Regions from separate parts of the Homo sapiens genome. Here region 1 is linked to region 2. The links are contacts of gene promoters, found by promoter capture Hi-C in blood cells and fetal thymus (Javierre and others, 2016). All regions are on one chromosome and are shown on one strand. Each heading gives the region's core, a stretch centred on a gene start or on the middle of the fragment in contact. The rest is flanking DNA. Distances are from core to core; before and after follow the strand shown. Region 1 overlaps NALF1 (NALCN channel auxiliary factor 1). Region 2 holds the start of NALF1 (NALCN channel auxiliary factor 1).

Region 1 (2,700 bases), core at 110-2,609, 520 kb after region 2:
AATTTTTTGAAGAGACTCTTCTTTCCATATTGTGTAGACTTTGCATGCTTGTCAAAGATCACTTGGCCATATATACAAGAGTTTATTCCTGGGCTCTCGATTGTGTTCTTTTGGTCTATGTCTTTGTCTTTATGCCAATACCATACCCTTTTAATTACTCTTAATTTGCAATGTGTTTCAAAATCAGAAAGTGTGAGGCCTCCAGCTTTTCTCTTCTTTGTCAAGATTGTTTTGGCCATTCAGGGTCCTTCCAGATTCCATATGAATTTTAGAATTTTTTTCTGTTTCTGTAAAAAATGCAATTGAGATTTTGATAGAAATTGCATTGAATCTATAGATTGCTTTGAGTCGTATAAACATTTTAATATATAAGTCTTCCAATGCAAGAACAAAGGATGGTTTTTCATTTACTGATGTCTTTAACTTCTTTCAGCAATGTTTTTGAAGTTGTCAGTGTACAAGTCTTGTGTGTGTGTATGTGTGTGTGTGTGTGTAGCTGCTATTATAACTGAGATTGTTCTTCATTTTTAGGTTGTTTGTTGTTAGCACATAGAAACACAACTGATTTCTGAGAGTTCATTTGGTATTCTTCAACTTTACCGAATTTGTTTTTATTAGTTCTAACAATTTTTTTGGTAGAATCTTTAGGGATTTTTATGTGTAAGTTTATCTCATCTGTGAAAAGAGATAATTTTACTTCTTCCTTTCCAACTTGGATGATTTTATTTATATATTTTTCTACTATTTTATCTTGGTAGGCCTTCCAATGCCATTTTGAATAAAAGTGGTAAGAGTGGGCATTCTTGTCTTGCTCCTGATATTAAAGGAAAAGCTTTGGTTTTTAACCATTGAATATAATGATACCTGTGTCCTTTTCATATATGACCTTTATTATGTTACAGTAATTTTCTTCTACGCTTAGTTAGTTGAGTGTTTTTATCATGAAAGCATGTTGGATTTTGTCAAATGCTTTTTCTGCATCATAGAGAGGAGCATGTGATTTGTGTTCTTTGGTTGATGTGGTGTATTACATTGATTGATTTTTGTGTGTGAGCCATCACGTACATAAGAAATAAATCCAACTTAGTCACAGTGTCTAATCTTTTTAATGTACTTTTGAAATTGATTTGCTAGTGTTTTGTTAAGGATTTTTGCATCAATATGCATCAGTGATATTGTCCTGTAATTTTCTTTTCTGTTAGTATCGTTGTCTGGCTTTTGTATCAGAGTAATGATGGACTCATAAAATGGATTTGGAAGTGTTCCCTCCTCTTCAGTTTTTTGGAAGAGTTTGAGAAGGATTGGCAATTATTCTTTAAATGTTTCATAGAATTCTTCAGTGAAGCCATCTGGTCCTGGGCTTTTATTTATTGGGAGGTTTCTGATTACTGATTCAATTTTCTTAATAGTTATAAATCTGTTGCGATTTTCTAATTCTTCATAGTTCAGTCTTGGTAGACTTTATATTTCTGGAAACATATCCATTTTTTTAGGCTATTCCATTTGCTGGCAGATAGTTGTTCTGTAGTCGCTTATTATCTCCTTTTTTGGCACCAATTGTGATGTCTCATCTTTCATTTCTGATTTTAGTTACTTGAGTCTTCCCTTGTTTTCTTAGTCTAGATAACGGTTTGTCAATTTTGTTAATCTTTTCAAAAAAAAACTCTGTGTTTAATTTTTTTTCTTCTTGTTTTTCTGTTCTCTACTTTGTTGATTTCTGGTCTAATTTTTATTCCTTTCCTCTGTTAGCTACCTGTTTACTTCGTTCTTTTTCTAATTCCTTTAGGTATAAATCTTATTCATTTGAGATCGTTCTTTTGATTGCAGGTTTTTATCACTATAAACTTTGCTCTTGGTGCTGCTTTTGGCTGCATCCCATAAGCTTTGTTAGGTTGTCTCAAGATATCTTTTAATTTCTTTATTAGTCCATTTTCATGCTGCTGAAAAAGACATACCCGAGACTGGGCAATTTACAAAAGATAGAGGTTTAATGGACTTATAGTTCCCCTTGGCTGGAAAAGCCTCACAATCATGGCAGAAGGCAAGGAGGAGCAAGTCACGTCTTACATAGATGGCAGCAGGAAAAGAGAGAGAATTTGTGCAGGGGAACTCCTCTTTTTAAAACCATCAGATCTTGTGAGACTTATTTACTATCATGAGAGCAGCATGGGAAAGACCTGCCCCCCATGATTCAATCACCTCCCACTGGGTCCCTCCCACAACATGTGAAAATTCAAGATGAGATTTGGGTGGGGACAAAGTCAAACCATATCAATTTCCCTTTCAATTTCTTTATTAACTCAGTTGTGCAAGTGTGTGCTGTTTAATTTTAACACTGTTGGAAATTTCCATTTTTCCACTGCTATTGATTTCTTGTTTCATTTCATTGTGAGCAGAAAAGATAATTGGTATGATTTCAATCTTCTTAAATTTGTTAAGATTTGTTTTGTAGCCTAATGTGTGATCTATCCTGGGAGACATTCTCTGTGAACTTAAGAAAAATGTGTATTTTGCTTTTATGGGGTAGAGTGTTTTATACATGTCTGTTAAGTTCAATTGGTTGTAGTGTCGTTATAGTCTCTGTTTCCTTAGTTACCATCTGTCTGATTGTTCTATCCATTGTTGAAAGTGAGGTGTTAAGATCTCCTCCTGTTACTGTGTTAATGTTGAATTCTCCCTTCACTTCTGTCAACGTATGCG
Region 2 (2,700 bases), core at 201-2,700:
AATTTAGTGTATACAGTACCTTATTATGCAGCAGAAGAGGCTAGTAGGTCGAATCCTGCCCAAGAGGTTTTGCAATTTTCTCTTTAAAAAACACCTACTTCTCCCGCATCCCCAACACCCACAGCGCTCCTTAAAGGAAAATGGATACGGATGCCCCATCCCTTTGGTTTCTCAATGCATTTTACTTAGAAAGAGGTCACCTAGTAAGACCCATGTGGTGAATGTGCACCCGGGCGGGGCATGAGGGTCCTTGGAAAGCACCGCAGAGAGGGCGACACCGCAAACCGCTGTCCCACGCGACCCCCGGGGCGAGCCGGGGCAGCGCTGCACTCGGTGCGCACCGGCAGCGTCTGGCACCCACGCCACCTGCTGCTCCCGCGGGTCTGGCAGGGGCAAGGGGCGGAGTGGGCAGGATCTTCAGATCAAAGGAGACCGATGCTTGCCCACGGCATCCAGCGTAGGAGCCGGAATCGAGGTGACCCCAGATTTTCCCAGAGTGTCTGTCTCCTTTCCCTTCTCAGAACTCCGAGAGCCAACGCTAAGGGGCACCAGAGGCTCAGACTGCGGCGGCGACTCGCAGGCACCCAGCTCGCCCGCGGCTGCGGAGGTCCTCGGAGGAGCCCACCCGGGAGGGGGTCTGGACGCAGGCAGCGGGGGCAGAGGGAGGGTCGAAGCCGCTCCAGAGGGTCCAGGTCCGAGGAGGAGCCCTCGGAGACGCGGACGGTGCGCGCGGAGGGCAGGGCTAGGCAGTGACCCCGGGTGGCACAGGGCTTACTGTTTCTTCCTAAGACTCTATGAGGCCACTTCTAATCGTTTACTTTAGAATAGGAAAGAAAACATAGACAAATGGGTGGCTGTCACCCAGGCAGCTACACGGTCGATGCAGGTGCACAGGCGTGCGCGCCATTCTCCCGTGTCACACAGCAGGACGGAATAACTGCACGCACTGGGAGCGATGGATCTCGCGGTCCGGGATCCGAGACGCATTCAGAGACCAAATGTCACCTCATCCCTCCTCTAGCCAATTCGAGCTTCCTCCGCGGACCCCCACCTTCCATCCGAAGTGGCTCGGTCCTTAGTTGAGAGGACTCTGCCCAGACCCTCGCACCAGTAGAGACCTCTGCCCGGGCGCCTGCAACTCGGACGCTTCCCGGAGCCAGAGCGTGCGGGCGGCGCGGCCGCGAGGAGCCTCACCGGCCATGCCGTCCGCAGTCTGACTTTTATTTTTCTCTTCAGTGATTAAAACAAAATATCGTGGACAGGGGGACAGAAAGGAAAGAGCAGGCGCCTGAGCCCGGGGAGCCGGGCGGGGGCCCCCGGGCCCCGCGGCCCCGCCGCCGCCCGCCCCCGCGCGCCTTCTCCCTCCTCCCGGGCCGAGCCGGCGCCACTGCGCCAGGATGGAGCGAGCTCGGCGCGGGAGGAGATGACGCAAAAGCCAGCGCTCCCCCCAAAAAAGTGTTTCTCCAGGACGAAGATGGCGGCAACTTAGCCCGCGGACTGAAGATGACTGTGGCTCTCGGGAGGCCCAGCCCAGGCGATTCGGCCCGGAGCTCCGCGGGAGGCGGCGTCAGCAGTCGGAGCCCCGGCGGCGGCGCCCGCGGGCGGCCCTGCGGCAGCGGCGGCGGCGGCGGCGGCGGCGGCAGCACTTAGAGCGCGGGGTGGGGGGTGGGGGGGAGGGAGCGCCCCGCCGGAGGCAGCCCAGGCTCCGGACTCTGGGAGAGCCAGCGCGGAGCAGGAGCGGGAGGCGGAGGAGAAGAAGAAGGAGAAGGAAAGGAAGGAGGAGGAAGAGGAGGAGAAGAAGAGGAGGAGGAGGAGGAGGAGGGGAGGCGCTCCGGGCGCCGTCAGTGGGCAGCGGAGGCGCGGCATGCCCCTGGCAGGGGAGAGCGGGCTGGGCTCCGCGGGGCCATGGGGACCCGCGCGCTGACAATGCCTGGGTGACCGGAGCCGCGCCAGCCACCCTGTCACCTCCACCATCGCCCCCTGCACCCAGCCTCGCCGCCGGCCACCAGCACCAGCCTCCTCCGTCTCTCTCTCTCTCTCTCTCTCCATTATTGTTTCCCACTCTACAGAGGATGGGGTCGGCTGATGATTAGGAAGCAAGTCAGACCTTCCTTCAAAGCCTGGTAATATTTATGTAGGCAAAAGAGACAGAGAGAGATAAAAGAGAGGGAGAGGGAGAGAGAGAGAGAGGAGAGAGGGAGAGGGGAAGAGAGAGAAAGAGAGAGAGGAGAGAGAAGAAACGGGAGGAGGGGATAAGGAAATTAAACCCTTTAAGTCAATGCATATTGTGGTGACACCGGCACAGGCGCCCTCACGGTGGAGTCGGCCAGGGCTGTGCGTTCCCAAAATATGACCAGGGGTGCTTGGATGTGTCGGCAGTATGACGACGGCTTAAAAATCTGGTTGGCAGCACCCCGAGAGAACGAGAAACCGTTCATCGATTCCGAGAGGGCTCAGAAATGGCGACTGTCTCTGGCATCTCTCTTGTTTTTCACAGTCCTGCTCTCTGATCACTTGTGGTTCTGCGCCGAGGCCAAGCTGACCCGGGCCCGGGACAAGGAGCACCAGCAGCAGCAGCGGCAGCAGCAGCAGCAGCAGCAGCAGCAGAGGCAGCGGCAGCAGCAGCAGCAGCAGCGGCGGCAGCAGGAGCCCTCCTGGCCCGCGCTCCTGGCGAGCATGGGGGAGTCCTCGCCCGCCGCC

The links. The method cuts DNA at HindIII sites, captures the fragments that hold promoters and counts their contacts. A CHiCAGO score of 5 or more calls a contact.
Region 1: a fragment that was not itself captured here is called in contact with the fragment with the promoter of NALF1 in region 2 in 1 of 17 cell types (endothelial precursors); the score reaches 5.8 in endothelial precursors.

Annotation. Positions count from the first base shown.
Region 1 is chr13:107,342,879-107,345,578 of GRCh38, reverse strand. All of the region lies in intron 1 of NALF1 (NALCN channel auxiliary factor 1), which reads left to right. Among named protein-coding and RNA genes, the nearest start is that of SNORD31B, 23 kb to the right of the region's middle. The HindIII fragment of the contact is 1,050 bases long and covers 835-1,884 here.
Region 2 is chr13:107,866,246-107,868,945 of GRCh38, reverse strand. It overlaps NALF1 (NALCN channel auxiliary factor 1), which reads left to right and starts at 1,450. Exons shown (of 3, transcript NM_001080396.3): 1 at 1,450-2,700. The coding sequence starts at 2,350. It overlaps LOC124903206 (heparan sulfate glucosamine 3-O-sulfotransferase 4-like), which reads right to left and starts at 2,273. Exons shown (of 1, transcript XM_047430833.1): 1 at 1-2,273. The coding sequence starts at 2,049. The coding sequence ends at 1,486. RefSeq lists an enhancer at 414-982. The HindIII fragment of the contact is 11,168 bases long and covers 1-2,700 here.